Linked DNA regions of Homo sapiens: all the other regions are linked to region 1. The links are contacts of gene promoters, found by promoter capture Hi-C in blood cells and fetal thymus (Javierre and others, 2016). All regions are on one chromosome and are shown on one strand. The core of a region is centred on a gene start or on the middle of the fragment in contact, and the rest is flanking DNA. Distances in the headings are between cores, read along the strand shown. Region 1 holds the start of CEP162 (centrosomal protein 162). Region 2 overlaps ME1 (malic enzyme 1). Region 3 holds the start of PRSS35 (serine protease 35). Region 4 has its middle 26 kb from the start of PRSS35. Region 5 overlaps SNAP91 (synaptosome associated protein 91). Region 6 overlaps SNAP91 (synaptosome associated protein 91). Region 7 overlaps SNAP91 (synaptosome associated protein 91).

The links. Contacts are between HindIII fragments. The CHiCAGO score rates a contact against its expected background, and 5 or more counts as called.
Region 2: a fragment that was not itself captured here is called in contact with the fragment with the promoter of CEP162 in region 1 in 1 of 17 cell types (monocytes); the score reaches 5.1 in monocytes.
Region 3: a contact is called between a fragment that was not itself captured here and the fragment with the promoter of CEP162 in region 1, in 1 of 17 cell types (monocytes). The highest score is 5.0, in monocytes.
Region 4: a fragment that was not itself captured here is called in contact with the fragment with the promoter of CEP162 in region 1 in 1 of 17 cell types (monocytes); the score reaches 8.0 in monocytes.
Region 5: a contact is called between a fragment that was not itself captured here and the fragment with the promoter of CEP162 in region 1, in 3 of 17 cell types (M2 macrophages, monocytes and M1 macrophages). The highest score is 6.2, in M2 macrophages.
Region 6: a fragment that was not itself captured here is called in contact with the fragment with the promoter of CEP162 in region 1 in 4 of 17 cell types (M2 macrophages, M0 macrophages, monocytes and 1 more); the score reaches 8.3 in M2 macrophages.
Region 7: a fragment that was not itself captured here is called in contact with the fragment with the promoter of CEP162 in region 1 in 4 of 17 cell types (monocytes, M2 macrophages, M1 macrophages and 1 more); the score reaches 7.5 in monocytes.

What each region holds. Positions count from the first base shown.
Region 1 is chr6:84,225,933-84,229,352 of GRCh38, reverse strand. CEP162 (centrosomal protein 162) reads left to right here and starts at 1,710. Exons shown (of 27, transcript NM_014895.4): 1 at 1,710-1,773; 2 at 2,901-3,016. The coding sequence starts at 2,960. RefSeq lists enhancers at 1,235-1,394, 1,296-1,796, 1,797-2,297. The HindIII fragment of the contact is 5,497 bases long and covers 1-1,973 here.
Region 2 is chr6:83,424,652-83,428,071 of GRCh38, reverse strand. All of the region lies in intron 1 of ME1 (malic enzyme 1), which reads left to right. Among named protein-coding and RNA genes, the nearest start is that of ME1, 4.7 kb to the left of the region's middle. The HindIII fragment of the contact is 2,514 bases long and covers 638-3,151 here.
Region 3 is chr6:83,511,784-83,515,203 of GRCh38, reverse strand. PRSS35 (serine protease 35) reads right to left here and starts at 2,670. Exons shown (of 2, transcript NM_153362.3): 1 at 2,510-2,670. The HindIII fragment of the contact is 612 bases long and covers 1,440-2,051 here.
Region 4 is chr6:83,536,380-83,539,799 of GRCh38, reverse strand. No RefSeq gene overlaps it. Among named protein-coding and RNA genes, the nearest start is that of PRSS35, 26 kb to the right of the region's middle. The HindIII fragment of the contact is 3,407 bases long and covers 143-3,420 here.
Region 5 is chr6:83,585,725-83,589,144 of GRCh38, reverse strand. All of the region lies in intron 22 of SNAP91 (synaptosome associated protein 91), which reads left to right. Among named protein-coding and RNA genes, the nearest start is that of PRSS35, 75 kb to the right of the region's middle. The HindIII fragment of the contact is 461 bases long and covers 1,555-2,015 here.
Region 6 is chr6:83,602,098-83,605,517 of GRCh38, reverse strand. All of the region lies in intron 14 of SNAP91 (synaptosome associated protein 91), which reads left to right. Among named protein-coding and RNA genes, the nearest start is that of PRSS35, 91 kb to the right of the region's middle. The HindIII fragment of the contact is 4,845 bases long and covers 1-3,420 here.
Region 7 is chr6:83,620,920-83,624,339 of GRCh38, reverse strand. SNAP91 (synaptosome associated protein 91) reads left to right here. Exons shown (of 30, transcript NM_001242792.2): 9 at 998-1,039. Among named protein-coding and RNA genes, the nearest start is that of SNAP91, 86 kb to the left of the region's middle. The HindIII fragment of the contact is 8,728 bases long and covers 1-3,420 here.

The DNA of each region.
Region 1 (3,420 bases), core at 461-2,960:
CTCACACCTGTAATCCCAACACTTTGGGAGGCCAAGGTGGGCAGATCAGGAGTTCAAGACTAGCCTGACTAACATGGTGAAACTCTGTCTCTACTAAAAACACAAAATTAGCCAGGTGTGGTGGTGGGCACCTGTAATCCCAGTTACTCGGGAGGCTGAGGCAGGAGAATCAGTTGAACCCAGGAGGTGGAGGTTGCAGTGAGCCGAGATCGCACTATTGTACTCCAGCCTGGGTGACAGAGCAAGACTCCGTCTCAAAAAAATAGAAATTAAAAAAAAAGAAAGAAAGAAAAGAAAAAAAGAAAAAGAAGAAAAGAAAAGAAATTCTAACATTTAGAGGTCAGCTAGGATAGACAGAGACAGTGAAAACCCTTGAGGGGAGGCTATAAATGTGAAAGAAAAACCAAGAAAGAGAGGAGACAAGTGTATCAAATAGTATTGGGAGATCAAATAAAGCGCTGTCATATATGTACACTTACACACACAGAGACAGGATTAAAAGGTCTGACAAAAGGGAGGTAAAGTGGAAATAATTCCTCAGAAAAGATTGGCAAGTAAGGTGAGGAGACAGATCATTTCAACCACTGGGAAATAATAGCATGAAGAGAATGTGTCAGAAGTGATGTTTTAGGTGGGGATCTCAAGGCATGTTCAAATGCTGTTAGGAAAAATCCCACAGCCAGCCAGAAGTCGAAGATACAGGATTAAGGGAAATGACCAGTGGAACAAGATCAGTGAGAAGAAGAATGGGTAAAGGCTCTAGATCATATGTGGGAAGGTAAGTCTTTGATAGAAGGTGGCAGGAAGTCAACTTCTCAATAAATGGTAGCTTAAGATATTTCTTTTATTATTCATATTTGCATCATAGTCCACAGCTCCTGGTTTGTACATATTTGTATTGCAAGAAAGACTTGATGAATAAACAGTTCTAGCTAAAGATGAGGTCCTGAACTAAGTCTACCATCAGCAAAACCTGCAGCTGTTGTAGATTTTACTTACACTATGCTAAATGTTGTCCTCTGAAACTCCAGCTAATGTTGCATGCTTTGAAAAAAAGAAAAGAAATAGAAAACAAAATCCAAGTCAGTAATTGTGAAATGCCAGTAAAGAATGCAGTTTTGAAAAGTAGGGGTAGCGGGAGGAGCAATAACTTAATAAGAATCTTGCTGTTTGCGTATTTTCGATTTCTTGCCCACTAGGTGGTGGAACAGAGTCCCCATCTAAACGACAGTTTTTTTCCTCACAGGTTTGTGTTTCTCTCACAATGCCTACACAGGTCTTTGCAGGCCAAAGAAATCCAAGAAATTCAATCTCTTCAAAATTGCCCCTTGGAAAAACAGAGCGCTCGAATGACAAGTGTGGGGAAGGCGGGAGGCGACGATGCGGAGTGCGGAAACACAAGGACCAGGGGAGCTAAACTACATTTCCCAGAAAGCCACGGGCTGGCCTACAACCACCGCGCCCTCCAAGCCTGCTGGAAGCCTCCGTCTCGCTTCTCCAGTAACCGGTTTGCCGCTGTCCCCTTTTCTAAGGAACGTAGAGAAAGCCAGGGAAGGAAAGGCATTTTACTGCAGCAGCGAAGGTTTAGCCACTAGAGTGTCTTTCTCAGCCGTGGTTATTCCGACCTTCGCTTGTAAAGGCATTGGGAAACCCACGGCCCACGTGACCAGCCCGGGTCATGTGACTCCAGAACCCGGCAGCTGAAGTCTGTTACCCTGACAACTGGTGGACCCGCACAGACCTTCCGGGAAAGCGCGGAATTCAGAGGCAGAGGTAGGTGGTAAGGTGTGAACGCTGGTTTCCCACCCAAATCGCCCTGGTCGAGGCCGTGCTTCATACTCGAGCGAAGGGCTTTAATTTTCCAGGTCATTCCCCTTCTCCGCCCGGAGCCCACGGCAAATGCGTCTTTGTCTTCCCTCCAATTCCCGAACCCGCGCTTCTGGGGACGGGGTCGCAGCCAGGCTTGAGAAGCTTTTAGTGGAGCTCACCCCTGACCAAGCTATTCAGGCCAAGACCTTAACCGCACTTACCCTGAACTGATCGAAAGTGCAAATGAGGGGAAGAGGTGTTACTCTGCACGATGGGGAGGGTATTGTCCGGGTCTGCAAGCCCTCTTCCCCTCCCCCATCTCTACAGAAGAAAGCTGGGATTTGAGCTGCTCTAGGGAGTTCAGGAGCTGGGGGTCGACCCAAGGTTGGGTTCATTAGGTGTCTAGGGGAACGCTTTCCGTTGCAAATCACTGGATTCTGCTTGTGTTCAGCACATAATTTTTGTCGGTCTTCCCTCGCTTCAAAAGAAACATAGTACTGATTTGTGTACTCCATTAACTTTAAGTATTCTTTAAGTATTTTGACTAAATTACTAATTCTTACTAAATTCTATTTGTGTATATTTTGAAACATCCCCGTATCTGGATACAGTCTGCTTTACGAAACTATGCAGTCTGCTTTACGAAACTATTACTATGGATTGGTAAAATAACGAGCCGAGTGATAAGGCAGCACAAACTGTCGTGTGCTTTGCAAGAAAGAAACAGTCCTTTGGATTTGCTAACTTACAGTTTTTAAGATTCCCTGTGAGGACCTGGTTTGTGTTTGAGAGGTACTAATTAACACATGCACACAAACATAGGTTTGGGAAATATTGTAGAGACCACTCTTTAACAATTGGATGTTAACAGATGAAAACATAATTCTGAACGTTGAGTACAAGACATCCTGTCAAAGCTGCTTTTCCAAATCAGTTTGCTTAATGAATTAGGAATCTCTTGACCAGCTCTTACTGGTTAAAAAAAATTGTGCATATATACTGAATCATAACAAATGTCCGAAGTTTAAGTCTGGTCGTGTTCATGATCTGATGGATTTCCTCAAAAGATGTTTATGTCTCTTGTCATTTAGTGTTTCCAATGTTTGAGGTACTTTAGAATGTTTACTTTGGGAGGTCAAAATTGTTGACTATGGCTAACTGTTCCCAAGAAGAGCTAGATGAAGAGTTTGAACAGTTTATGAAAGAGGTAAGTTTATATTTTTAAAAGCTATATTGTCAAATTTGTCTCAAAAGACTCATCCTTCAATTCTGTCATCTCGAAGATACAGTTAGTCCATCACCAAACTCTGAATTCCCATCATCCCTCTAGCCCTGTCCCTTTTCTGCCACTGCTAGTTCAGTGCCATCATCTCAACTGGGCTATGGCAGCAGTTCTCAACTCATGGTCCAGCATTCCTTTCACCACACTGCAGTCAGACTCTGTTCCTCCCCAGTAAAAGACTCTATTGGTCTCCCATCACATGTAGAAAAAAAAAAACAAACAACTCCTCCTTACCATGGTTTTAAAGCCTTTCATGATTTCACTCTTACATATCTCACTGCCTTCATATCCCTCTTTCACCCACTTTATTTATTCCACAGTGGCCTTTT
Region 2 (3,420 bases), core at 645-3,144, 800 kb after region 1:
GTTGTACTATATAATTTTGTATTTACTAACTTGTCTTTTTATTTTCCTTTTTTTTTTTTTGAGACAGAGCCTTGTTCTGTTGCCCAGGCTGGAGTGCAGTGGTGTGATCTAGGTTCACTGCAAACTCTACCTCCTGGGTTCAAGTGACTCTTGTGCCTCAGCCTCCTGAGTAGCTGAGATTACAGGCATGTGCCACTATGCCCAGCTAATTTCTATATTTTAATAGAGACAGGGTTTGGTCATGTTGGCCACGCTGGTCTCAAACTCCTGACCTTAAGTGATCTGCCCGCCTCGGCCTCCCAAAAGTGTTGGGATTACAGGCGTGAGCTACTGCACCCGGCCATAAGTTGTATTTTTTTTTCTTATTTCTTTGATTGTCATAGGGCAGGAGTCACAATATTTAGTACAGTATTTTGCTCAGTAGACATTAAATAAATGTTTACTTAATGAATGAGCCATGTCTTTATTTTTGTCTTTAAACAGAACTCAGCTTTTAAAGTGATAGTTTAGGCATTGTCCTCTTTAAAGTAATTTTGTGAAAATAAATTCACATTGAAGTCTAAAGTTTAGTTCACTTCCTATGCCATTATATAGTATGCTGAAATGTAGTCAGAAAAGTTGAAATGTGGTTTAAGCTTGATAATCTCATGAAATTTTAATTACTTGCTGGATAACCTAAGGGAGGTGCTTCATCTTGGTAAAATCAAAGTTAACAGTAGATATGGTATGAATTCAAAAATTTTCAAAAAACTTAAGAGAATTAGGATCTTCATTTGTTATGATTCATGTATGAGTCTAAGCCTTACTATTTGTTTGTATTAAAATATGCATCATTCAAGGTAGGATTTCATCAAAACAATTGGGGAAGTAAATCTGCCTCATGTTTATGAGATTTAATATTTTTCTGTGCATAGCCCTAACTATTTTTGAGATGCTTATCTTTGCCGGTTTTATATAAATGTGTCTAATTTAATGTTTAATGTTTTTTATTTTCAGGGATATGGTCTAATATAGATGAGTTGTGTTTTAAATTTTTTTCTCAATAATTTTCATGTGACTAATAATATTTCATAAATTGCCCTTCAAAATTAAAATTCTACACATAATAAAATAATCATGCCTATTTTTTATTCTCAATTAGTTTATTTCCCTTTGCAATGGTAGAAAACACTAATTGATAGTTCTATCATAATTGTGCTTACATGGTTTCTATATCTTAAGAGTAAATAATAACATGACCCATAAGTAAATCTCCAAACAACACCACTCTTCCATATTTTAGGCAGTTTGGTTCAGTATAAGTCATGTTTAAGAGTTACGTTCCAGTAGAAGATAGTGTTTTATCGAAGTTAATTTGGGTCATCATTACTAACTTTTACATCTAAAAAATCAGCTTTTGTAGCTGTTTGTTTCCTGGCATGACAAGACCTAGTTGGGTGTGTTGTAAGAAAGAGAGAGAAATAAGATTCATGGCAATGAAGGAAAAGTACCCTAAACCTCTTTTTCTTCAATGTAAACTAGACCTGAATGAATTATTCAGAAAATTTCATCCAACCACATTCTCTAGAGTTGCCTCTGCAACGTGAGAAACTGATTTATTATTTAACATAGAATCCCACTTATGTGAAAGTCATATACAGCCAGGTACCTCTGTATATGTTTGTTACCTTGCTGCAGTGGAAACAACAGTAGTAGTATAGAATATCACAATAACAAAATGTGTGCTGTAATAAGAAAGGTGAGTTTGATATGGTAACTCTTGAGACAGGTGATATGGAGTATAAAAAATATTGAAGAAAGGAATGGATTTGAGATTTTGCCTTTTTCAGCTCTGATTTCCCTCTAACTTTTGGACAGGTAGGGGAGAATGTGATGTAAAGGAATGGACATTCTAAAACTTTGTGCCTAGAAGAAATGAGCCCAAGTCCCAAGCCTCCCAATTAGCTGTGTGATATAGCATCTGGGAAGGTCCTCCTTGCTACATCATCCCATGGCGGAAGGCAAGATGGTAGAGGGTGAGAAGGAGCAAGAGAGGGCTGAACTTGCTTTTATAAAGGAACCCACTCTTGCTTGCAATAACGAACCCACTCCTGCATTAACAATACTAGTCACCTCATAAAAATCCCACCTCTTAACACAGTTGCATTGGGGATTAACAACACATGGACTTTTGGGGACAGATTGAAACCATAGTAGGAAGTCAGGTAATATAATAATGAATAATGTTCTCTAAAAACATGAGAATATAACTGCTAGAGCTTTTCTACTAATATACAGACCCTGGATTTAAAAACACTGGTATTATTTTTTCAATAATCAGGTAATGGTTGAGTAAGAACATCGGCAAAAATACTTGTGTGTTTGATATGGTTTGTCTGTGTTCCTACCCAAATCTCATCTTGAATTGTAGTTCCCATAATCCCCATGTGTTGTGGGAGGGACCCAGTGGGAGGTAATTGAATGATGGGGGTGGTTACCCCCATGCTGCTGTTCTCCTGGTAGTGAGTGAGTTCTCACGAGATCTGATGGTTTTATAAGGGGCTTTCCCCCCTTTTGCTCATTCTTTTTCCTGCCGCCATGTGAAGAAGGATGTGTTTGTTTCCCCTCCCGCCATGATTGTATGTTTCCTGAGGCCTACCCAGCCATGCTGAACTGTGAGTCAATTAAGCATCTTTCTTTATAAATTTCCCAGTCTTGGATATGTCTTTATTAGTAGCATGAGAACAGACTAATACAGTATTCATACCAATGTTAGTAATTATGTTATCAGGCTAGTTGTGATGGCTCACACCTGTAATGCCAGATGTGAGCCACCTGGGAGGCCGAGGTAGGAGGATCACTTGAGCCCAGGAGTTCAAGACCAGACTGGGAAACATAGCAAAATCCCATCTTTACAAAAAAGAAAAAAAAATACAAAAAGCTGGGCATGGTGGTGTGCACCTGTAGTCTCAGCTACTTGAGTGGCTGAGGTGGGAGGCCACAGTGAGCCATGATCACACCCACTGCACTCCAGCCTGTATGACAGATTGAGACCTTGTCTCAGAAAAACAAAACAAAGCAAAACAAAACAAAAGAATAAAACCTTAGAGATCCAGAGGCTGAAGGAGTTCTAAGACTTCCATTGTACTATTAGGCATTGGCCCTTTAAGCTTAGAATATATTTAAATACATTTAAATTGTCTATTCAGAGTCTTAAGATGGCCATCTAGTAAGTCCAGGAGAGAAGCCATAGAATAAAATCAGCCCTCCAGACACCTTGATTTTGGACTTCTATCCTTCAGAACTTTGATAAAATAAATTTATGTTTAAGCCACCCAGTGTGTGACGCTTTGTTGTGGCAGCCCTAGCAAACTAATGATATACTTCTGTAATTGAAGCAAAATTTCATAATACAGCACTTTCCCTTGCTTTGTTTAGTAG
Region 3 (3,420 bases), core at 496-2,995, 710 kb after region 1:
TAAGATTTCTTCCAGCTTTAAAGTTCTAGAGTAAACCACAAATGAGAAAACACAAGTAATTTACTCATCAATGCTTCTCAGGAAGGTTCAATTCCTAGTCATCCAGGGAAGAACTTGCCTGTTATCCATGTTGCTACCACTAGATGGCAAAATTAGCCTGGTGATGGCAAATCTAACGCAGGTATTTAAAATGTTTACACTTACTCAGCTGTGAAATAGATTTTATTTTAAAAGCATGTAAGATTCAGCAGGGGCAAAACTTTTAACTGGCTAATAATATACTAAATGGCTGTGACATAGGGAGACATATGAAATTTATTATATTTAGAAAACCCACCTACCTACAGGCCACAGAGCCCATCCTGATGAACTGAGGGCTGATAATGCTGTCTACAGTCAGACAATTTTCTGGCAGATAGTTTTTCAAAAACAGTTGTAGTGCCAGCACACTTCCAGCATGACCTACAGCACTGTTAACTAGTCCCCCAAATGTGCCACAATTTATTTCAATGCTAAGGAAAATCTTGAACCTGCCAAATATTTCACGTTTATCAAATACTTTATAATCCATTACTAAAGGATAAGCTCTCCACTGATTCTAGGCTGAGAATAAATGGCAAGAAAGTTCATTGACAGTGGGCCAATTTCTATTCAAAATATCATACCATAGCACTATTTTCAAGTTTAGTTTCATAAATGGAGACCAAAAAAATGTCTGCTTAAAAAGTTTGGCAGTACTTGAGGGAAAGGAAGATGGTAAAGTTACACAGTTGATTATTTTACAGTAACCCACAACTTCTGTTTCTCATCACAATAAAAAACAAAACCTCCCTTTGTTTGGGGGCTATTTTTCCATGACCTGTACATCTCAATTTGTGCAATCCTATGGATAAATCAAATTTTGGGTGAATGACATTAAAGGAACCCCAAGAGGACTCTTTCATATGCTGCCTTATGAAGTGCACAGCATATAGCTCTAGACTTATCTGTATTTTTCAAGTTGGCCTTTGAGAGCAAAGAATATCTATAAATAGGTATGCTACTTTTCAGGTTTTAAAGCATCTATGGTCACAATGTTTTTAGCTAACCCACATCAGTTTTACCTATACGAAGCTTAACGTTTTTTAGTTATAAAATAATAGCTTGCATACTACTAACTTAACTTTACTGTTTCCTAACCTCTCCATCTCAGATTTCTCATCTGCAAAGTTACCTCAGTGCTAAGGTAAAGTAGCTCTATCCTCCCAAATTCTGAGTCTGATCCTACTGTTAAAATGCAATATGCTTGTTTGATATTTGAGCATTGGGCAGAGGAAAATCATTTACCCAATGGAGAAAATTAACTCACACTAGCAATTGCTTATTTTAACATCTAATGAACACATACTGTATGCCAAGTATATGCTAAACAGTCTCACATTTTAAAACGTGAAAAAGCTTCTTAAAAGCATGCAGTTTTCCCAGCTATCTGGAAGAAAAATGGGGTACAGTATCCACATCTACCACTTCCCTCACTAAAGGAACTCCTCTAATATTTCCTAATAAAAATAAAATTCCATATGATACTTGGCCTCTACCTTCAAGCCTACATGTCTTATTTGGCAGGGATTTTAACATTCTCTCTTCTAAATTATAAACCAGATTCTAAGTATAATTCTCCAGCCAGCAAAATATGACTTTTATAATCCTCTGTGGAGACAAATGTACTTCGGATAAAATAAGAATGAATTTCAGAAGTCAGAAGGGTTAATAAGGGGTGAAAGCCCCCTAGACACAGCAAGCAGCTTCTTTTCAAATCAAGGACAGTGTAAAAATGTCAGAGCAATCAAGCGGGAGTGTTTCTACAACTTTTTAAAAAACCTTTTATTATAGAAAATTTCAAGACTACACAAAAGCACAGAGAAAAGTATTAAGTTGAGAGAAAAGTACAACCCCCATGTGCACATCACCAGCTTCAACTATTGTCAATATTTTGCCAATGTTTCATCCACCATCACCACCCCACACACTTTTTTTTTTCAGCTAGAGTATTTCAAAGCAAGTCAAAAGCTTTTCTACTTCATTTCGCCGCCTCATTTTCTAAACGTTTTCCTATGCTCCTTTTGCTGACCTCCGCAGCCAAGTTGATAAAAGGGTAGAGGGGAGAGGCTAGCTTTCATAGTAACCCCGCCAAAGAGACTTTTCAGGAATGCGTTTCATACCTTTCTCAATGGCATCTGTTAACAATCATAAAAATAAAGAGGGTCCCCTCTGGTACTGCTTAAGCAGAAAGAATTCCATTTATATTCCAATGCAAACATTGTTGTCGTTAATATTAAACTGTGCAGAGGCCGGCACACAGAATTGCCTATGGGAAGGGTGGTTAGTTTCTTTGAGGACTGAAAGAAAGTGTCAAGTTTGATCCCTTTCTTCAAAGTCCTTCAAAGAAGCTCTCCTCGGGTAGGTCCTGCCTTTCTCAGGGAAATTTCTAAGTTCTAAGGTTGTTGGGTTTGGGGAGCTTCATCTTTACCTGCCAGGCTTGTTTGGTCCCCGAGGGCACTGTCAGCTGAGATCAGAGCTCCCGAGGAGGCGGGCGGGGACGCTGCAGCTGGGAGCCTCTCAGCCAGCCTGAGCCGGAGGCCGCCCCGCCAAGGCCGGGCCACAGCACCCAGAGCTCGCCACTGAGACTGCGGAGGGGGAGAGAGCTGCGCCGCACCACGGCCGGGAGATGGGAGGGGAAAGGGGGCGATGACGAGGGGCGGGCGCGGTGGGATGGAGTGGGGGGAGGGGAGGAGGAGGAGGTGGGCAAGAGGAGACGGAGAGGGAGGGCGGAGAGGGGAGTTCCCTGGAGGAACGGGGCGGACCTGGCCGTGTCTCACCCCAGCATTTCTGCCCCCAAGCTGAATTAAGCATTAGGAAAAATTCATGAGTAGGTTCACAGGGGATGCCTGTCCCTGTAATAGTATGCACTCCTTTAACAGTCTCAGGAGTTGTTCAGTTAAGAGTCTCATTCCTCACTGCTTGCTGTTGAGACCCCAGGCATCTAGAAGAACGGAGGGCGTCTCCCCAACCTTATCCCAAGCTAGTCTCCACCGGGGACCTAGCTTCTCTGGATGCACAAGCCTCAGGGTTACCCCGACTTGTACCAGGCGCCCAGGCTGCACACGAGGATGGGGACCTCAGGCTGGGACGCCTGGACCCCCGGGAGCATCCTGCGCTGCCTCCAGGGGGAGCGCGTCAGTTTCCGTCTGCAGGGAAAAGGCTGGTTTTCCTCTTTGGGCGAGTAACCTTTAAGGTCCTTTCCCATCTCAGTCCCACCAGCATTCTAACCTCATCCGTTCTCTCGACCTTTTATTCTCCTTTAGGAGAGGGGTGGGGGCCACATGAGAAAGGAAGCTTCATTTGTTTAACAACAAATTCTAGTGGGTGACAGGTCTGGGG
Region 4 (3,420 bases), core at 597-3,096, 690 kb after region 1:
ATTAATTTCCACTCATCGCATACACATTCAATTTTGAAACATAAAAGTTTTCTATAATTGATTCACAGAGCAGAGTTTTCAAACTGTTTAGTGTCAGGACCCCTTTACACTCTTAAAATCTATTGAGGCTCCTCCAAAAGCTTTTATGTAGGTGGGTTATGTCTGTCAATATTTACTGTGTTAGAAAATAAAACTGAAATTCTTTTACATTTGTTTAATTTTTATTTATGTATTAGATTGGTGCAAAAGTAATTGCTGGTTTTGCTATTAAAAGTAATGTAGTAAAAGTGGCCGAACGCAGTGGCTCATGCCTGTATTCAATCCCAGCACTTTGGGAGACTGAGGTGGGCAGATCACTTGAGGTCAGGAGTCCAAGACCAACCTGGGCAACATGGTGAAATCCCATCTCTACTAAAAATACAAAAATTAGCCTGGCATGGCGGCATGTTTATCATGCTATAATGTCAGCTACTTGGGGCTGGGGCAGGAGAATCACTTGAACCTGGCAGGCAGAGGTTGCAGTGAGCCGAATCATGTGACTGCACTCCAGCCTGGGCAACAAAGTGAGACTCTGTCTCAAAATAATGTAGTAAAAGTAAAAATATAAATATTAAAACCACTATATATTAAATAAAATATTTTATGAAAAATACTACTCTTTGCTTCTATGAGTGTGACTTTTTTAGATTTCACATATAGGTGAAATCTTAGAAACTTAAAAAAGTGGTCCCGTTTTGCCATTTTTGCAAATCTCTTTAATTTTAGACTTAACAGAAGACAGCTGCATTCTCATATCTGCTTCTGCATTCAACATGTTACAATAGCCCATGTCAGGTAGTTATTGGAAAATTCTGTTGTGAGCACACTTGTGGGAAAGTGAGTGTCTTAGTATTACTGTGAAGACAGTTTTGACATGGACGTTCTGAAAGGTTCTCTGGCATCCTTAGGAGTCCCCTGACCACACTGGAGGATGGGTGCTCCAGCTGGGAAATGGGCTGGCATGGCATGAGAAGCATCCATCGCAGAGATTAAACTCCATTTCTTGGAGACTCCTTACGCAGTTTCCAATATCCAGTGACACTTTCTAAGAACATAAAGATGCTGATGGATGCTTTTGGCCAATGATAAAATTTAAAGTGTTTCTACTTGGAGATCAAAAATATTAACAAACATACTTTGTGAATTGACGATGACTTTTTTAAAGAAAAAATATTTAGTAATGGATTAGACTGAGATGGAAGATGATATTGAACATAAGAATATTGAGAGTGAACACAGTAGTGTGGTGCAGGTTGCAACCATCAGGGCTGGAGGAGGGTGAAAATTTTTAGCAAAAGCCTATGACTACAAGAGACTGTAGCCTAGAACAGCACCCAGGCCTGCAAACAGTAGCCCCACAAAGCGGCAGGGCCTGGAGCGGTCCCCTTGCAATAAAGATAAAGGGAGACAGTCACCTCTTAGTGATCATTTTCTCTGGTGTTAAACCACCCTTTGATACTAAATTCATCTCCAGACACCCAACATCCTTGTGGTTCATCTTTCTTTTTCAGTGTATGAAACATCTTTGGGGTAAGTTAACTACTTTTATAATTTGTAGCGGTATCTGTAAACCAGAACCCACAATGGTCTGAAAAGTCTTATAAATGTGTCCCAAGGAAAGTCGGAGTTATTTTTTAAATCATCCGTATTTTGGATCACGTGGATTTTGGCACTGTATTGAAAAACAGGAAATGCAGTTGTGACCATGCATGTAATATTTCAGATGTAAATTTAGGACCAGATTTTTAGAAAACCTGTCTCTTAGGGAAAAAAAATTAAGATTTAGAGATAAATTAAAAGGAACATTTTGTTTAGACCAGAAAAAGAAAGGTAGCTAGGTGTGGCAGCTCATGCCTACATGTAATCCCAGCACTTTGGGAGGCCAAGACAGGCAAATCACTTGAGCCCAGGAGTTCAGCACCATCCTGGGCAACTTGGCAAAACCCTGTCTCTAAAGAAAATGCAAAAATTATCCAGGCATAGTGGCATGCGTCTGTGGTACCAGCTACTCGGGAGGCTGAGGTGGGAGCATTGCTTGAGCCTGGCAGATTGAGGTTGCAGTGAGCCATAGTTTTATCACTGCACTCCAGCCTGGGTGACAGTAGGGACTCTTTCAGAAAGAAAGAACAAGGAAAGGAAGGAAGGAAGGAGAAAGAAATGAAAGAGAGAAAGGGAAGGAAGGAAGGAAGGAAGGAAGGAAGGAAGGAAGGAAGGAAAAAGAAAGAAAGAAAGAAGAAAAGAAAAGAAAGAGAGAAAGGGAGGGAGGGGAAGGAAGGAGAGAAAGAAAAGAAAGAGAAAGAAGCAGAGAGAAAAAGAAAAGGGAGGGAGGGAGGGAGAGAGGGGAAGGAAGGAGAGAGAGAAAGAACCAAAGAAAGAGAAAGAGAAGGAAGGAAGGAAAAGAAAGAGAAAAGAAGAGAGGGAGGGAGGGGAAGGAAGGAGAGAGAGAAAGAAAACAAAGAAGAAAAGAAAGAAAAAAGAGAAAGAAAAGAAAGGAAAGGAGGGAGGGAGGAAGGAGAGAGAAAAGAGAGAAAGGAAAGAAAGGAAGAAGGAAAGAGAGAAACAAAAGAGAAAGAAAAAGAAAGAAGGAAAGAAAAGAAAGAAGAAAGAAAAAGAGAAGGAAGGAAGGAGAAAGAGCAAAGTTAGAAAGTTAGAAAGAAAGAAGAAAAGGGAAAAAAAGAAAAAGAGGAAGGAATGAAGGAGAAAGGAAAGTTAGAAAGTCGGAAAGTCAAAAATCAGAAAGAAAAGAAAGAAAAAGAACGAACGAAAGAAAAAGAAGAAAGAGAAAGAAAGAAAAAGAAAGAAGGAAGAAGGGAGGAAGGAAGGAAAAAGAAAGAAAAGGAAGGAAAGAAAGAAAAAGAAGAAAGGAAAGAGAAAAAAGGTGTAGATGCTATTTGAGTTCAGAACAAAATATAGTTATATGACTTACTGGTTATGTTGTTAATTAATAGGTTAGTTCACTATAGAACCACGTTTTTTATTTAACTTTCTTGTCATTATTAAGGGTATTGTCAATGTTATTGATAAGTATCCTACAACACTTTTTAACATACATGTCTAAGAATGAACTCATTATCTTTTTCCCCAAGCCTAATCTTTCTGTCTTGGTCAGTGTTCTCACCATCTACCCAGTCTCCCAAACCAGAAGTTCAGGGAACAGAACACCCTCAACTCTTCTCTCCTGTATTCAAAGGCCACTAAGTATAGTAAACATTCAGCTCTCTAAATATCTCACAAGGTGTCCTCTCTTGCCTTTCTCTCTGCCTTTTCCTTACCACGGCTGCTCCAGCAGTCTCTGTATTGGGCTCTTTTGCGTCTAATCCCCACTCAAACCACCCCAGTACAGCCTAAATAGTGCTTCCAGAAGGTTTCCTTCTCAAAATT
Region 5 (3,420 bases), core at 536-3,035, 640 kb after region 1:
CCACAGAAATAGCATAGTTTTAATGGCTATTTGAGGGATCATGACCTTGTTAACTTTAAAATGAGATTAGTGATTACAAACATTTTGCTTTGAAGTTATAATTAAGATTAAAACGGCCCATAAAATCAAATATTCTGGCCTTTCACAGAAGCCTATGAATTCTTTCTTTCTCTCCTGGGTATCCCATCCCCTGCCACAGATCTCAAATGGGAATTTGAAGCCTACCAGACAGTAGCCTGGCAGAGCGGTCAGCCACTGTTGACCACCTCCAGTGCTACACAGCCACATTGTCTACTCCAGGATCCTCCTCCATTGTGGCCTCTCTGTGTCCTCCAAGGCTAGAACCTGAGATATTGTGTTTCTCAAAGAGCCCAGAACACTAGAAACTGGAGCTGAAAGGCCTTTTCCTGTGGGAAAAGGGAGTGTTCCCATCCAATTCCAAGTTAGAAGTCAGTAACAGAGCCAAGAGATTTGACCCTGGGGGATGCAATAAGAATCTAAAAACACATCTAGAACAAGCCTGAAGGGGTTTGTCACCTGCTGCCAGGTGTAACTGCACATACCTGTGCCACAGCTGCACAGCTTGGTATATGGACAGGTCCAGCAGGGGAAGTCTACAAAAAAAGTATGTTAGTTCACTTTACAAAAAATAAAATTATTCAATTGTGTTGTCTATTCTGAAATCTTATTAAAATGGGGTAGAAAAGAGGAGAAAATCATCAATGAAAGTACCCAATGTCATCTACATAGGTCTCATTTACTACACACTTTCCATTTCTTCTACTGCATCTTCTTGTGACTCTTTCAGTGATAGGCAAAGTTATATATTGTGTACACTTTCTTATTTCTCTCTTTTCTATTTAAATAAATTAATATTCAATGTAAATCAGTATAGATGAGTTTAATGTCTCATTTGCTTTCAAAACAGTTCTTGTAATTTAATGTATACATATGTCAGTGCCTGATTTATTTGGCACAATGTGAAATATTATTTCACCTTATATCCTGATATAAGGGGTTGGATGCAGTGTCCCACAATCATAATCCCACCACTTTGGGAGGCCCAGATGGGCAGGATCACTTGAAGTCAGGAGTTTGAGCCAGCCTGGCCAACATGGTGAAACCCTAATCTCTACTGAAAACAAAAAACAAAAATAAGCTAGCATAAGAAATTTTAACTTTTAATTTCCATAGGGCTTAATTTTGGGGGCTAATTTTTCATACTTCCCTGTTTTCTTATAGAAAAATATTTCTCACGCTTGTTCAAGTATCAAAGCATAAGGAAGTCATATTCTCACTAAAGAACATCATGGAATATTAATATAATTCTATCCTGTGAACTAGGAGCAACTTTCCTAGCCAAAAACAAAAAAATAAAAAATGAAAAAAATTCTGCTAATAAACGCAATATAAAACCACAGTCACATTTATATTTGTAACCTAGCTGACAATTGGCTGTTTCTGAGTTTTCACAATTCTCGTACATTTTTATTTAATGCATATTAAGTAGGACAAATATTTGGGGCACTGTGTGTAGTAATTTGCAGTGAAGCTTAGCATTTGTATTATAGTTGTGTCTGTGTTTATTTGGGGGAGGGATCAGCTAAGTCCACAGTCTATTGAAACTAAGAAGATTTTTAAAAAAAAATAAATAAATGAGCCTAGTCATACATAGCAAGCCCACAAATATGATCAGAATCAAAGAGAGAGAAGAGAGAAAAAGATTCTCTAGAATCCTGTGATTGCCTTTAGTAATAAAACTGTTTTGAGAAAGAATGAAAAAGAAAAATAATATGCAGACACTGTCATGGGAGGTTTAGACTGTTCAAAGGGAACCTTGGTCACTGGACTAAGGACTCTTACCCCATGCCTAAGATTAGATTTTTTTGAGTGAATACATTTACATGTGAATCATAAAGATAAGGCAATAAATATATGATATAATTAAATTTTAAAATGATTTTAGAGATTTTAAACTAAACATTAAGAACCATTTTAAAATTGAGGCGAAAGCTTTGTTAAAAATTGGTATCATTTTGAAACTTGAAAACAAAGACTAACTAGATAGTCTTGAAAATGAACCTATCTATCATAAAAACTATTCTTCTTTATTCAAATTCAGTTTTAGAACTGTCAGATAATACCAATTCCAGAATTAAACAGCACTTGAAATATTGCCTTAGTCGTCTTCTACCCCTTGAGTAAAAATTTTAAGGTGTTTGGTGCATGCAGTATAGTGAAATGATAAAAAATTCTGGAGAGGACAACTTCCAAAGAGGCCAGACTAGAAAAATCATTATCAAAATAATGAAGAAAGGAAGGAATAATGGGGGTGGGGGGAAGCAGAGGGGAGAATCCATAACAACAATGAGTAATTCTTTCCAAGCCATTGAGATTACTGGTAGGATACAGATATTATCCATATCTCAGGTAACATCTGAATGAAAACTTGAAAGTTAAGTTTTTAAATAATAAAAGTAAATATTTCATACAGTGAAGAGTAAAGCTGTCAAACTCTGCTCAAAATATACCAACTGAAAATACAGATGTTTGAAAGCTAGAGGCAGACTACTGGATGACAAAGGTAAAAATGGACTGTTAAGGAAGTTAGGTGTGTTGAGGAATATGCCTAACATCTGAGGTTGGCATCGAGCAGGACAACCATGTTTTTCCATCATAGACACAATTTTAGGGTGACTGCACTATAAATCTGTACTAGTATAAGAGAATTTCACATCCTATCTTTAATTGCAAAGACAAGGGACTATATGGTCCAGCCTATGAGGCCCTTTGTAGTTTTGCATTTGTTCTCTTAACCACATTAATTGCTTAAAATGAGCCACAGAAGTCCTTGAACTGAATTTAAAATACAAACATGCCCAGTGTGGCATTAAAAAGTAACAATTTCCTATAAAAGGTAAAAGTCTACAGAGGATCAATTCTATCATCCTGTGTGGAAGTGTCTTTAGCAGTAGTTTTAAAATTGCACTCTTGTGGCCGGGCACGGTGGCTCATGCCTATATAATCCCAGCACTTTGTGAGGCCGAGGCGGGCAGATCACAAGGTCAGGAGATCGAGACCATCCTGGCCAACATGGTGAAACCCCATCTCTACTAAAAATACAAAAATTAGCTGGGTGTAGTGACACACGCTGTAATCCCAGCTACTTGGGAGGCTGAGGCAGGAGAATGGCTTGAACCCAGGAGGCAGAGATTGCAGTGAGCCAAGATGGCGCCATTGCACTCCAGCCTGGTGACAGAGCGAGACTCCATCTCAAAAAAAAAAAAAAAAGAAAGAAAAAAAAATTGTACTCCTGCAACTGAAACAATATGATGTGTTAGATAGACTATGTAGACTATGACAGTCAGACTTGATATATCTGAATCAATAGAACTTCATTAAGAGTGTGGGCTACTCCCC
Region 6 (3,420 bases), core at 274-2,773, 620 kb after region 1:
GAGAGACAGAGAAAGTGCCTGTAATACAGTGAGAATGTTCAAATAGTCATATAGTTTTTATTTTAACAGTTGGAACAAGGAAGTTTTGTGGGTTTTTTGTTGTTCTTTTTTATTACTACTCTAAAATTCTGATTATTTTTAGTAATTGTTCTCTAGAGACTCAGGCCTTGAGGATTGAGTATTCCCCTTAATTTATGGTTACTCAAAGGTAACATTTCCAATTTGGTTTGGTCAGGTGTAGCCTCGTTCCTGGATTCTTTTAGGCCTGAATTGATTTTATTCACATTGTATTTGACTTCATACAGTTGAAATCTTTTTACAGATTCTTATTTGTACCAGAAAAATCCATACTTTAAACTGATTGACTGAGAGGAATCACATCTAAGCACTTGATTCCCACTTTATTTATGGATCTCAGGAAAAAAATCAGCCTTTTATAAATATTTGATTTAAAACATTTAATATTAATATAAAAATTAAAGTAATTGCTTCATAATGCTCAAAGCTGCAAAGAGTTGGTTTTAAATACCATGCCTTCCTGTACCAAACTATCAGAATAAAATTTTCAAAAAGTTTAAGACATGCCTTGTACAACTATAGGAGCAACAGAAATAAAAGACTTAGTAACTCACTAATGAGGAAACCAGCAAGATGATAAAGCTGTCTCAAAGAACATTTTGAGGAACTGAGTATTTATAGGTATTTTAAAAGGAATGTTAGAATAAGATGGCTAGGTTAGATAGAAAGCTGTTAATGACCTATAGGGTAATAAAAATCATAGCCTTGAGGTTATCTTTTCTCCCATACAGAGATTATTTGCATCACTAGCAGACAAGATCTGTAACAACATAACATTGGAGAATCAGAGCCTTTAGTGCACAATAATAACTAAGTCAAATGAAGTTATATTTCTCTAAATAATTGAATGTCCTTTGGTGGTCTTGTTAAACAGTGTGTCAGTATAACATCAAAAGTCCTATCTGTAATCTCTTGATCTCATTTCCAAGTTATTTTGGTAACAAAAATAAGAGAAAGATAACCAGTTCTGAAATAATGTTGCTAACTATAAATAAGAACATTTAAAATGTTGGCACGTTTCCATTTTAAATATGTAAACCTTATCCTATATTGAAATGTTCAACTCCTAAGGCTACAGCTATCAATTTTTAAAATAAAATTGTTCTCTCAGCTTTATTTAACTTTATTAAATTTCTATTGGTAAAGGAAAATATTGCTAAAGAGATTTTATAAGGGCATTCTTTTTTACTCATGTTTTTATTCTGAGCTTCATCACTGATTATTTTAATTTGCTAATAATTTATTTTCATTACCATATTGTCTTTGTTAGAACTTTAATGAATAAACAGTGAAACTGTAAACTAGTCCCTTTTCCATATTCCCTGGCATGAAACTGAAGATAAATTTTATCTTTTTTTAAAAAATTTTGGCACTAAAAGAATGCCAAATAAAAGGAAAAAATAAAAGGTGAAATTTTGTTGAATTGCAATATAACATTTTTATTCATTTTCATCTCTAAATACTTTTTGCTAAGACACATAATATTGTAAGGAATTGATTGTAATAACCAATTTTATTAGAATACATTTTAGCCTTTAAAGTTAGAAATATGTAACTATTGATGATTGAAACATTAACATACCATTGGACATAAAAAGACAAAGCAGAGCAGTATGGTTTTAGCCAGGGCTGTACTATACAGACAATGTAGATCATGCATTGCTCAAAGGCAGGGCAAGGGGGCTGAAATCCAGCCAGAACTCTATAGTCACGCTGTGAGCCTTTCTCATTATCCTTGAGAAAGAGATGCTTTACTTTTTCTAATCTGTCTCACTACAGGGAGTACCTTTTTTTTTTCTTCTTTTTAAGATATTATAGCTTTTATTTTAGAATATAGCTTTTATTTTATTTTCAAATTTTAGCCATAAGACAGTAAAACGAACTCACTGATTTACCAAAGACAGTTGGATTAAAAAAACTGAGTGCAGTGGCTCATGCATGTAGCTTCTGAGGAGGCTGAGATGAGAATCTCACTTAAGCCCAGTAGTTAAGAGTCCAGCCTGAGCAACATAGTGAGATCCTTTCTCAAAAATAAAGAAAAAAAAATCACAAAAAGGCAGTTGGATCCAAATTATATTTCTGACAAAATGGGGCTTGTTCACATGGCTAAACATCAGTTGTCCCAATAGGTAAGCTAATGGGCCAAAATTTGGGGTAAAGCAGTTTCCATAGTAGTTTGATTTTAAAAGCATATTTTTATGCTTTTTTCAGTTATTTTAAATGACTATAAGGTTAAAGTTTTTTTGATAAACACATAAGATTAATTTTACAATAAAAACTAAGATAGCTCTCAAGTTACAATGAAAGCTAATATTGATTGAGTGCTCCTGTGACAAGTACTATGCTGGTCATCACTACACTTACCCAAGAAAGGTACTATCTTTAACCTGTTTAAAATGATAAATATGTGAAAACCATGTAAACTTTCTTATTTCTTTCTTTTTTAACTTTAAGTTCTGGGATACACATGCAGAATGTTTGTTACATAGGTATACATGTGCCATGGTGGTTTGCTGCACCTATCAACCAGTTATCTAGGTTTTAAGCCCCGCATGCATTATGCATTTGTCCTAATGCTGTCCTTCTCCTTGCCCCAGGGAGTACGTTTTTATAATTAGTACAAAGGCACCTTATAGGGCCTGATGTTCACCTTTTGATGATTAGACAGCACTTTTGCCGCAACAAAACATCTACAACTGCAACATTTCATAGCAATAGAAAAGTCAGCTTTGGGGGGAAATGCTAATAAAGAAATTCTCTAATTTCTAAGCAAAATAGTAAAAATTATAAGACTTTAAGAAATTGAAATAAACTTCTACAATTTGCCCGGTGGATACCCAGTCATGGTTGAAGGTGATGCTAAATTGTAACAGATATGTGTTTGTTTATTTGACTAAGCAAAAAAATAAAATTGTTTTCTCAATCTTGTTTGATAAGATCAAGCCACTTCTATTATTGAAGCATATTTGAATTCTGTATAACTAGGCAGTAAATTATAAACTGTAAAACTCTGTAAGCCTAATTGGATGGTCTCATTTCCAAGGACCATAGCCACTTCAAATGTCTCTAAATTTTTCTTGGGGGTTATAGGTACCAACACACATTTTTATTTCAGGGGACACATTGTAATGATAGCATTTTTTTTCCTGTTGGTGTAAAGCAACCAAATTTTAGCAAATTTATTTTAGTAAATTTAATTTAAATTGTGCATGTAAGATTTGGCATTTCTACAGGCTGGTGATGAACCCAATCGGCTGAAAGAATACAGAGGATTTTTTAAATCCTCATCTTTGGCTCCCTAATAGAGTGTTTTTTATTTTCTTCATAGTAAATTCATGTTGC
Region 7 (3,420 bases), core at 369-2,868, 600 kb after region 1:
ATGATACGATTGAACTTGTGATTTGTGTTTTTCCCCAACTTTTCACTTTGAATAATTTTCAAACCTACAAAAGAATTTATGTATAATGAATAAATATGGTCTCTTCATTGATTTACCTTTATTAATATTTTTTCATATTTGCTTTTCCTCCCTTCTCTCTTTCTCTGCCCCTATCCCCATGCTAACAAAATTAACAATATGCATATACTTTTATCTGGTAATTCCACTTCTACAAGTATATCATACAGATATATACATTACACATGCAAAATGGTGTGTGCAGCACTGTTTGCAATGGCAAGAGATCAAAAGCAACTTTAGTGTCCATTAATAAGTTACTAATTAAATATAGGACAAGGAAGTTCTATGCAGCTGTTTATTAAATGAGGATATTCTGTGTGTTGATATGGATATATGTCTAAGATATATTTTTTAGTGAAACATAAGTTCATTATATATAATATGTTATTATTTGTGTTGTAATGGGGAAATAAGTATATATTTGTATAATTTCATATTTCCTTGAATATACATAAAGAAACTCTGAAAGGATACATAAGAAACTAACAAAGTTAGGTCTGTGGGAGAAAGAGTGGAAATTATACCCTGAATGAGTTTTAGAACTAAATGAGCATTCCCTATCCAGAAGCTGGGCATAATTAACTACTAAATTTAGTCTAAGCAGTGTTTTACATTTTGAGCTTCTGTTAACTAAGGATACCATTACATTTTATGCTTCAATTTGTTGTCATTTGTTTTTGGATTCTAGTAGAATTCTATACATTTGTTATGTCTAACTATATTAATGAAATTACTGCTCTATTATATTGAGTGAAAAACTGCATAAAAAGCATATGTTCCAAGTGAGAGTGATACATAAAATAATTCATTTACACCAATATTGAGCTGTTTAAACTAATTGTGTAGGTGATCTTCCATTAAATGAAAAAAATTAATTTTAAAAGTTCTACTAATTTCTAATTTTTTAAATCCACAGCAAGTTGGTATTGATAAAGGTGACATTCCTGACCTCACACAGGTAAGCAACTCTCCCAGTGGAAGATTCAGTATGCATGAGATTATTACAACATATATTGCCACAAATGGGCATAGTCTTGTAAGCATTTCATGCATTTTGAACTTAGGCCAACCAACTTTCTTGGAAATTATTCTACCTTATTTATTGTTTCTAGCCATTGAATATATTTCTGGAGGTAATAGGAAGATTTTCTTGTTCTTATGATATAGTTTCTTCTTTAAACGCAACTGAATTTAGTAAATGAACTCATCTTTTCATTTTAAACTTGATCAAAAGGAAACCTTGAATAATGTTAATAGAAATGCTTTGGCTATGAAAAGTCACTATTTCTAGGCCTGATAATCAGAATATTAGAACTTTTCCTCCTGCTTGTCTTCCTAGTTTCCAACATGTCCCAGATATGAAGGAGACCCATGAATAGGGAAAACTCTGATGTCACAGTTGAACTACTTGTCTCCCCTATGAAATGGAGAAATGTCCATGTATAAAATAAGCTAATAAAATAGTAGTGGTAGATGAGCAATTTTTCTGGAGCCCATCTAGTAAATGACAACAATAGAGGGGCTTCTGTATCAATCATTTTATCTGTGAAGAGGGTACTGTGTATGGATCCTAATATATAGATTCAAGGTCATTCATGGGTATAGTATAACCTTTCTCATAATTGGCAGGAACTGTTTTTACTTAAGCACTCTGTTATGGTACAGTTATATCCCAAACATGTTATTTAACTAGCAATGATGTTATTGTAGAGATGATAGGAGAAAACACAGAGCTGCTATCTTATTTACCAGTAATGAATATATGAACTTTCTGTCCTTGTAAATATAGTCATTATAATAGAAAAAATTGTCATAATGAAAGATACCTACTTGTTAATAATATCAAAGTGCATTTAGTAATTTGCTGTCCTTATTATGCCTTGAAATGTTTCCATCTTTAAAATAATATTAATCCTTAAGTTTTTATTAAAAATTAGGGAAACTCAAAGAAATGTTATTTGTATTATTAAAATGCCAATTAAATATCAAGAATTCTTTATGAATAAAATTCACAGAGCAATCCAGAACATGATGGCATTGTATTTTTTAGTGAAAAGTTGAGAAGCAGTTCTTTTTCATAGACAGAATATTGGTATAAAATATTTCTGCTACTATGAGAAAACAGTGTTTTTTGACGAGGCACATACCTGAATAAGATATTGGTATCATTTTGGATATGGCCAAAAAATTAAGTGTGCATAAAGTGCCACTAAAAATCTCTTTATTAGATATAGATTTATCTTTGTAACACTATAATTAAAAGCAAAGAAAATAAGTGTGTTTTCATTTAAACTAATCATTTTTAGTAAAATTTATAGTACATTTTAAAAAATAATCCACATAAGTAATACATGTTAACTTTTAAGACATTAAAATATTTAGCTCTGATATTTAGAAGCTAATGAATAGCTTCTAGAAGTGGCAAATCATCTTTATTTCACATCTATGGACACCCTTACTGTAGAATAAAAGAGAAAGTAGGCTCTCAGTTAAGAATATAGGTCCTCATCTATCATACTTAGTTTGGGCAGTCTGAAAGGAAACAAGGAAATATTCAAATGACTACTTAAATCTGTTTTTGCTTTTAACATTAGACAATGAGAGCATGTCATTGAAAGTACATCATTGAAATCATATACTTGGATTAAATTTTTAATGATACTATTATAGTCATTATAATATTTATAATCTCCCCCTCAAGAAGCCCAGAAACATTATATTTTACTGAATGATTTAAGATGTGTGTTTTCATAATTTAGGGAACAGAGACTCCTCCCTCAAAGAAAGTAAAATCTTGCCCTGGGTCTGTTAGAAAGCTATTCTATGGTAGAAATTCATTAGAATCTATTAGCACTCTATTCTCTTCTTTTGTTATGACCTTAAGCGCCACATAAATTTCAATATTAACATTTATTTTTATGTGATACATATACACCATGGGATACTATACAACCATTAAAAAGAAAAGATCATGTACTTTGCAGAGACATGGATGGAGCTTGAGGCCAATATCCCAAGTAAACTGATGCAGAAACAGAAAACCAAATACTGCATGTTCTCACTTATAAGTGGGAGCTAAACATTGAGTATATATGACACACAGAAGTGAACAACAAACACCGAGGCCTACTGGAGGGTAGAAGGTGGTACCCCTGTGACATGCAATTTACCTATATGACAAACCTGCGCCAAGTATCCCCAACCCTAAAAGATTTTTTAAATGGGGAAAAATATTTATTTTTAAATTACCTGTTCAGGCTGGGCGCGGTGGCTCACGCCTGTAATCCCAGCACTTTGGGAGGCTGAGGCAGGCGAATCATGAGTTCAGGAGATCGAGAC